Regions from separate parts of the Homo sapiens genome. Here region 1 is linked to region 2. Evidence: promoter capture Hi-C in human tissues and cell types (Jung and others, 2019). All regions are on one chromosome and are shown on one strand. The core of a region is centred on a gene start or on the middle of the fragment in contact, and the rest is flanking DNA. Distances in the headings are between cores, read along the strand shown. Region 1 overlaps NHEJ1 (non-homologous end joining factor 1). Region 2 holds the start of WNT10A (Wnt family member 10A).

The links. Contacts are between HindIII fragments. The study calls those that stand out against the background at their distance.
Region 1: a contact is called between a fragment that was not itself captured here and the fragment with the promoter of WNT10A in region 2, in 1 of the 25 tissues and cell types used here (H1 embryonic stem cells).

What each region holds. Positions count from the first base shown.
Region 1 is chr2:219,110,219-219,114,415 of GRCh38, forward strand. All of the region lies in intron 5 of NHEJ1 (non-homologous end joining factor 1), which reads right to left. Among named protein-coding and RNA genes, the nearest start is that of NHEJ1, 48 kb to the right of the region's middle. The HindIII fragment of the contact is 8,685 bases long and covers 1-4,197 here.
Region 2 is chr2:218,877,905-218,882,116 of GRCh38, forward strand. WNT10A (Wnt family member 10A) reads left to right here and starts at 2,948. Exons shown (of 4, transcript NM_025216.3): 1 at 2,948-3,204. The coding sequence starts at 3,092. RefSeq lists silencers at 2,374-2,433, 2,654-2,863, 2,884-3,023. The HindIII fragment of the contact is 13,021 bases long and covers 1-4,212 here.

The DNA of each region.
Region 1 (4,197 bases), core at 850-3,349, 230 kb after region 2:
AATTAAAAAGCAGAATCTAAGGGGTGCCCACTGCACCCTGTAATCCCAGCACTTTGGGATGCCAAGGCAAGAGGACTGCTTGAGCCCAGGAGTTCAAAACCAGCCTGTGTAACATGGAAAAATCCCGTCTCTACAAAAAATATATATATATAAATTAGCCAGGTGTGGTAGGGTGCACCTGTAGTCCCAACTACTCGGGAGGCTAAGGTGAGAGGATCGCTTGAACCCCAGGAGGTTGAGGCTGCAGTGAGCTGTGTTTGCACCATTGCACTCCAGTCTGGGCAACAGAGTGAGATGCTGCCAAAAAAAAAAAAAAGTAGAAATGTGTGGTATATTGGGTTATGGTAAGTGCTATGGAGAAAAGTACAGCAGAGACAGAGACAGAAAGTGCTGGTGGGGTGGGGGTGGAGGTGGGGCTGAAATTTTAGATGGGGTGGCCGGGAAGTCCTCAATTAGAAGGTATCACTTGAAAAAAGACCTGAAGGAAGTGAAGGAATGAATCATGCAGATATCTGGGAAGGACCATTCTTAGCAGAGGGAACGGCAAGTGAGAAGGTCCTGAGGTGGGGCACCGGTCTCAGATGTTCAAGAAACAGGAAGGAGGCGGCCACCGTGGATGGAGTCCATATGCTACTGTTCATCACAGCGCTCCTCCTCCATTTCAGATCCTTTGGCTCTGAGGAGTCTGGGCTGACTGCATGTTGGACTGAACTGTCCAAGCCAGGAACATGCTCGCAAGCAGAAAGAACTTAAATAGCTTGGTGAAAAGGGACATGGGTAGATAAGATGAGCTTAGTTTTAAAGTATTTCTCTTTACTGAAACAGCTCAAAGTTCCTTTAAATAAAACATCACCCATCCTCACAAAATCCTTGTAAGGAACAAAGGTCATATTCCTTAACTAAGGACCAGAGGGGGGAAAATCATTTTAAAGATGATTTTAGAACTGGAATAGAATTTACTCGTGATACCCAGACCAATGCTCTATTATTCATAAAAGCATAGACTACTAAAAGGTGGAAGCCAGATTTATCTCACCCATTCTCCTCATTTACTCAAAAGGCAGCTGACAAAATTAGAACCCAGGTTTCTTGGATAAGGGGTTAACACTCCTTAAAAAGCAAAGTAGGGGGATGGTACAGCTTTTAAAAGAGGGGACCAGCTCTCAAATCCTGCATTCTAGAAACTCTCCTACAAGGGAAAGATATGGTGATGACATTAGCATTACAGAATACTAATAAACAGTCTTCTCTGTCCCCTGACCCCTAGAAAAAATCTAGTTATCCCACACGCTTGGCCCACTCCCCTTATCTAGATCCCTTTAGCCCCAAATGTCTTTCATGAGACAGTGTGGCCAAGCCAGTGGGCTGCAGGTTCTGAAGACCAGAATTAAGTCTACAGTGTGAATACAGACACACACACACACACACACACACACACACACACAGAGAGATACATACAGTCAGTGGGAAAGAAGGGGAAAGGAAAGCACACACAACACAACACACCAGGGCAGCTGCAGAAAACAACTGCTTGTTAAGTTAAAATTAAACTCTGTACAAATATTGACCTTTGGAGGGGACAGAAACCGGTCCCATATTTACCAGCTTTATAAATGGGACTGACCACAGCTGCCCCACGCGCTTGGCCAGCATCATGGCAGGATGGGGCGAGGCCATGCTTTAGGGGTGGGGGGATGAATGAGAGGGGCAGGAGACATTTTAAACACTCTCTTAAATGTAGTTACTACTGGTAGGTCAAAGTTCCCAAAAGCCTTAAAAGGGGAATTTCTAGGAAAGCAAATAAGGCAGTCTCTGAAAGTGGGGGTCAGAGAAATAGGAATAGAGTGGAAAAGGAAAGCTTCGGCAAGGAAAAATTGCTAAAAAGAATGAGAAATACAACAGAGATTGTAACTAAATGGTGAAAGCACTGGGGAGCTTATCCTTTTGAACCCTGGCCCTTGGTCAAAGCAAGAGTCATAAGGTAGAAGACCAGGTGACCAATTTAAGTAACCTAATGGAACAATTTAAACTGACCTGGTTTGAGTTTTGGCTCTGTTGCTTACTTGCTATGTTACCTTGGGAAGCTCAAGGAACCCCAGTTTCCTCATCTATAAAATAGGGATAATAATACAAAAATATTGTCCTAATTCACAAAGACTAGGACCAACCATAAATATCACGCATATATAAATCATCATTATAATTAATTCCATTCCAGCTAACTGTGCCTTTTACACTCCAAACTGGCCAAGAAACTGCAGTCTCTCCAGGAACAAAGTCAAGGGCTAGAAAGGAGAGCTTGACCTTGCCTTGAACTTGTAAAAGTCTCCTAGGGGCACACACCTAGACCCTTCTCTTGTTGCAGGATAACAGGGAGGCCAACCTGCTGAAACAGGCCCCAAAAGTCATACTCAGGTTGCAAAAGGTCCAGATATGAAGGAGGAGAAAGGACTCATCAATACTACTTCCCTGAAAGCTGATCTCTAGCAACCTGAAGTTTTTCAGGAACAAACATCACAGATGCTGGGCAACTTAGTTCTGTTCCAAACCCCTGAAACTTCGCCCTCTTTTACGCCCTCCTTTACACTCATGACTTTCACAATGAATAAGAGTAAGCAGAAAAAGACCAGATCCATCTCCATATGATAGGACATGAAACATGCACACACACATACACGCACTGTGCCACCAAGAATCACAATTCTGAAAGTATTTCCAGTAAAAACACATGAAAAGATTTTGCTGAAATTAGTTGCCCAGATTTATAGAAATCTCTTATGCCTTTATGTGGTATATTGTTTATGCTATACATCTTAAAATCATGGGGTAGGCAGGCAACTATCACGGCATATGAAAAAGGCAACGACTAAGTCAAAGTACTTTACCTCCTCAGTGCTAACCAAACATGTGTCACCAGCATCTCTCGACTCTGCTTCACTTGTTCAATGTTTTACCTTAATATATTACAGTTTATATTGTTAAACGTGTGTCATAAAATATAAACAATGTACAGCAGAACCAGGTCAGCAATTCAGGAAGAATTTCCAACGCTGCAGTCTCTGTGGTCACAGGGCAAGATGATTTGCATTTGGTGCACCAAATACGTGCTGAAGCACAAACTCAAAACAAATTGAGGAGGGAGAGATGGACAGGAATAGAAAAGGGGAGGAAAATGGAGAAACTATCCTCCAGGTAGGGACCAGCTTCCTTGAATTCTGATTCAATATATATATGTATTTTTTGTAATCTGACATTTTTACCATCAAGAACTTATCTTAAAATGTAATCATTATTTATCTCTATAACCTGCTTTCTCTGGCTTTGTCCTTCTTCAGAGGCTCCAGATAAGTGATAAGCCTCCAAGTTTAGCCACTCAGAGCCTCCAAGGCTTTTGTCCTGACATAGAAAAGAGCCCTTACCTCAGTCCACTCTCATTTTTCTCCCCCTCCATAAGTCTTCGTGTCACCTTCTATAAACTATAGAGAAGTGGAGTTAGCTGGCCTTACCTGTATGAGCCTAAGATCCTTGGCAAACCTATTAAGCTACAGCCAGAACTGCTATCATTTCCAAGGTATTCCATACTTGGAATACCTTTCTAGAAAAGGGAGATTTATCATAATGATGACCATCACCCATTTAATACTCCAAAAAAAGTTCGTCCCTCTCATTCTCAGCAACAACGCTCACAGGAGAAGCCTGAAACAGAACTCAGTCTATCACGCTTCAGGATCCTCTTCCCACAATATTCTCATCCAAACAAAACCAATGCCTTAGACAGGGAAGTTTCTAGGCTAGGAAAGTGGGGCAGGGGCTGAAAACAAGCATCTTCCAAAGCAAAATATTCTTAGGGAGAAGTTCACGGCTTTGAGCATGTTAAGGAAATCTCTGAAAACACACACACACAAGCCCACAAGGGGACAAACAATTGTCATCCAGCAATTAGAAGTGACATGTCCAAGGACACTTTGCTTATGAAGGGGTCTCCTGACTCTCCACCCATAGCTCCATCTGTGAGACCCTGCTGATTACCTCCCAGACTAAATTCAGGCTGCCTACATTCAACTCGATTCAGCAAAATGCAACCCCACAGAGGATTTCTAGTTGAATATTGTTTGTTTCAGTGATCTCATAATCTCTCCTAGCCAAACTTGTATATCAATCTCAGAGAAGTCCCTAAGCAGATCATGTGCCTGGACT
Region 2 (4,212 bases), core at 1,698-4,197:
CAGGACTGGGCTGGGGCTGGACTGGGCTAGGCTGGGGCTGTGAGGGTCCCACCTGTTCTCACCCCCATGCTTCCCCGGCCCTTCCTCCCTGTGACCTTCTCCAGAGCTGCCACAGCTGGAACCATTCTCCAAGCTGCCTTTCATCCCCAGTGCTCCCCCGCCCCCCAGTGGCCCCTGTAATTGTGGTCTTAGGCGGCGGCTGCGGGGGCTGGGGCTGGGCTGAGGGCCAGGGCCCAGGGCAGGGCCAGGGTGGGGACTAGGGGGTGCTGATAGGGGCTTGGCCATGGTGTGGGTCATTTGGGGCTGGGACCCCAGGGGCAGACAGTCTCTGGGCCTCACCTACATACATGCCAAGGCTCTGGACCAACACAGACTCTCCCCTCCCTTCACTGAGAAGTGCTCTGACTTGGGCACTCCTAGACCCTCCTGACACCAGGGCAGAGCCACGCCTGAGTGCAAGCCTCAGTATCACTATTTGCCTCCGGAGGCTTTTTTGTTTTTTTTTAAGAAAGGGTTTTCTCGGTCTCCTTTGCACCTCTGTATTTCACAGACAGTGGAGGTGGGGAAGAAAAGAGACCCCCTCATCAGAGAGATGCCAAAGGAAACTAAATCAGCTCCTCAACCAGGTCAGCAGCGTTTCCCAAAAGGAGTCCCCACCAGAATCACTGGGGATGCTAGCTAGAAAGACAGACACCCAGGCCTTTCCCTGGAAAGGCTGATTCAACTTCATGGGGCCTGGAATCCGCATTCCCACAATGGCCCACCCCAGGGGACACTTGTGCTGCATCAAGCGTGGGAAATGCTAGTGTGAGCGCGTGATGGGGAATAAGGACATCTGTAAGCTGATTATGAGTCCCTTCCCTGTGTCACGTTCCTAATTCTTTCTGGGCCTCAGTTTCCCCAACAGCCAATAAGAATATGACTCTCCAGCTTGCTGGTGTCCTCTCTCATCCTGGGCTGGTGCCTGTCTCCTGTCTTGAGTCTGGTCCCACCCTTACCCTTACCGCTTACCCTTCCCAAATGCTAGTCCCAAGCTGTCCCCGTTTCTGCAGCATGGTAGGGAGAGTGGGGAGGGCAGGGGGCAGTTGGGGTCAAATAAGGCTCTAGCTGACGCAGTCTGCTTGCTGCCCCTGGCTGTTTTCCTGCAGTCCAGCCAGACTGCTCCCCCCCCACTGCCCCACCCCCACCCCCAGCAGCCTCAAGCCCTTAATTCCTGACAGCTGCGGTGGCTGCCGGCAGAGATGAGGGGGAAAGGAGGGGGGAGTATGCCGTCAGCCTGCTGTTGCTCAGGCCGCCCCCACCACCTGACAGTCTGGGGACAAGGAGGGCCCCACCCCCTCCTTCAGTTCCCCAGGGATGGGCAATTCCAGGAATGGGCCTTTTTTGTCTCTGAGCCCAGAGGCTCCCATAGTTTTGTTCCTAAGCCAGCAGGGGCTCTCTTCAGAGAGAGGGGCATGTTTGTGTAAAGGCTTGTGCCCATTTTACAGAGGAGGATGCCGAGGGCACAGGGCAGGAGCACGATCCACTATCAGGGCCCAGGCTAGCACCAGAAACAGACGGCAGAGCTGCCTTTCCCCTGCCCTCTGGCTCTCAGGCCCTTGCTTGGGCCCAGCACACTTGCACTATATCGAGGAGGGGCCCAGTGTTCAGTTGGGGTGGAGGGACAGGAAGATCTCAGCGAGAAGTAGACCTGAGCCAGGAGGCTGGTATTAGGGACCTCCTAGAGGACCATGTGCAGGTGGGGCCAGGGAGGGCCAGGACAAGACTGAGAGTATCTGCGGGCACAGGCAGGCAACACTCAGTGTTGGGGAGGCAGCTGCTGCGCTGGGAGTCAGGAGAGCTGCGTTCGGTTCTCGCTCTTCCGCTAATTTGCTGTGTGACCTCTTTGAGCCTCGATATTTTCTTGTGAAATAAAGGGGAGCTAAATAAACTATCTCAACGGCCACTTCTAGGGTTAAAAGTCTCTCTAACGCCTCCTCCCAGGACGTGCCACCCCGGGCGCTCCTACGCAAGCATTTTCTGGGGGCCTGACACTGCTGCCTCCCCGGGCTCACTGAGGAGACAAGGTGGTCCCCATGAGCCGCATTCCGCAAAGGGGCAGAGGAGGTCTCCGTGAGCAGGAGCAGGAGGCACCTGTTTAAGGTCACACAGCAAAGGGGAGAAGAAACCAGAGGCTGCCAAACTCCTCTGCAGGAGCCCACACCTGCCTCACACCAGGCAGGCCTGGGGGAAGTCCCTCCTCTGGCGGAGGAGGCGAAACACAGAGGCCAGCCCCTCCCCTCCAGCCCCTGCAGGTGTGTGTGTTGGGGTGGGATGGGGGCGCTCCCCAGCAGCTGCGTCTCTGCCAGGCACACACACCTCGCGGTAACACATATCCCCCACACAACCCAGCGCGCTCCACACACAGGCATCTTCCTGTGCACGCGCGCACAGACCCCAACACCTTTCCCTCTGTTGCCCTCAGCAGGGACGCTCCCACCCCCAGTCCCCAGCGGACGCAGTGGCCTCGGGACTCGTACACGCCTCCACGCCCCGCCGCGTGACGTCACGTGGGGTAGAGCCCTGAGACACTAAATGGCGGGGGGGTGGGGGGAGGAAAGGGAAGGCGGCAGAGCTCCCCGAGCCGGGACAGTCACTTACTCTACAGGCAGTGGGGCCCGACACAGACAGCGCCGCCCCCGCCAGCCAGCCTCGCACGCCCTCGGAAGCGCAGGCTCCCGGCGCTGCGCTGGAGGGTTCCCCGGCACCCCAGCCTCCCGTCCCCAGCCCGCTGCACCTCCGGGCCCCCCTTACCCTTGAGAGGCACCGGGAGTTGTCGCGGGGGGGCCTCGGGAAATTCCCCGGACCCCTGTGCCAGGAGGTGCCCGGTTCGCCCGCTCTTCACCCCCCGCCCCCCCCGAGGGCGGTGCCCGGGGGTGCTGCCCCATGGAGCGGGGAGGCGGGCGCCGTCTGCTCCGGGAGCCCTGACCCGAGTCGGAGCTGTGTGTCGCAGCCGCCCCGACCCCCCGCCGATCATGCGCCGGCGCCCCTGGCTCTCCAGTCCCACTGGGCTGTGAGCCCCCCACTCCCAGCCCGTCAGGGCCTGCGCGCCATGGGCAGCGCCCACCCTCGCCCCTGGCTGCGGCTCCGACCCCAGCCCCAGCCGCGGCCAGCGCTCTGGGTGCTCCTGTTCTTCCTACTGCTGCTGGCTGCTGCCATGCCCAGGTGAGCCCTCACCTCATGCTCCGCCCTCCTAGAGAGTTGGGACCCCGGCCTGCAGGGGCCTCTGATGCTCTTGCTGGGGTAGAGGACCCTGGAAGAAGGGAGGGACAGGGTCATAGGAAAGTGCTGGTGCCCAACCAAAGGCAGTGAGCTCCCTCATAGGAGGGGGTTGGACTGGTGACAGGATATGGGCAGTCCAGGGAGACAAGGCAGTGCCCAGGAGCATGATGGCAACTAGGAGGGGAGGTGTGTGTGGGGGGGGAGCAAGTGCCAGTCTGGAGTTCCTGCCCTGTTGGGGGAATGCACCCCCACCTCAGGAGTAAGCACAAGCTGCCTCACTCCTTCCTGCAGCTCAGCCCCAGGTAGGGGCAGGGGTTGGGAGGCTGGAAGGGGGTAGCCCAGGTGGGGTCAGTGAGAGACTGCAGCTGCAAGAGCTGTGTGTGTGTGTGTGTGTGTGTGTGTGTTTTCAATCGAGCCCAGGATCCCAGCAAACTGTGTTGGTAAACAGTAGTTTGTATGTGTGCCCATGTGTGCATGTGAGAGCTCATGGGTCAATGTATGTTAAGATGAACACATGTGTAAATGGGAGTGTCTTTGTGTGTGTGTCTGTAACTATGTCTGATGAAGTGTGCATGTGCGTAAGTGTGCTGGGGTTGGGTTTGTGTGTCCACCACAATGTGTGCAGAAGTGTGTCTATGTGAATGTGACTGAAACATATCTGTGGGAGTGGGCTTGTGGGGAACCCTGTGTGTATGGGCATCTATTCCTGGGGATGTGCATAGGAAATACTGTGGCCACAAGCATGGTGGATGTGTGTGCATTTGCACGCTTACCTGTGTGGGTGTGCAGCTAGCTGAGTGAGTTGCACTGGGCAGGATGATTGTGAGGAGGTCAAGGAGAGAGGAATGTGTAGGAGTGTACTGATGGGCCCAACCTTCAGAAGCAGAGGTTGGAAGAGGGAGTGATTATGGCCGTTGGGACAGAGTGTGTGTTGTTAGATGGGGCTCTCCT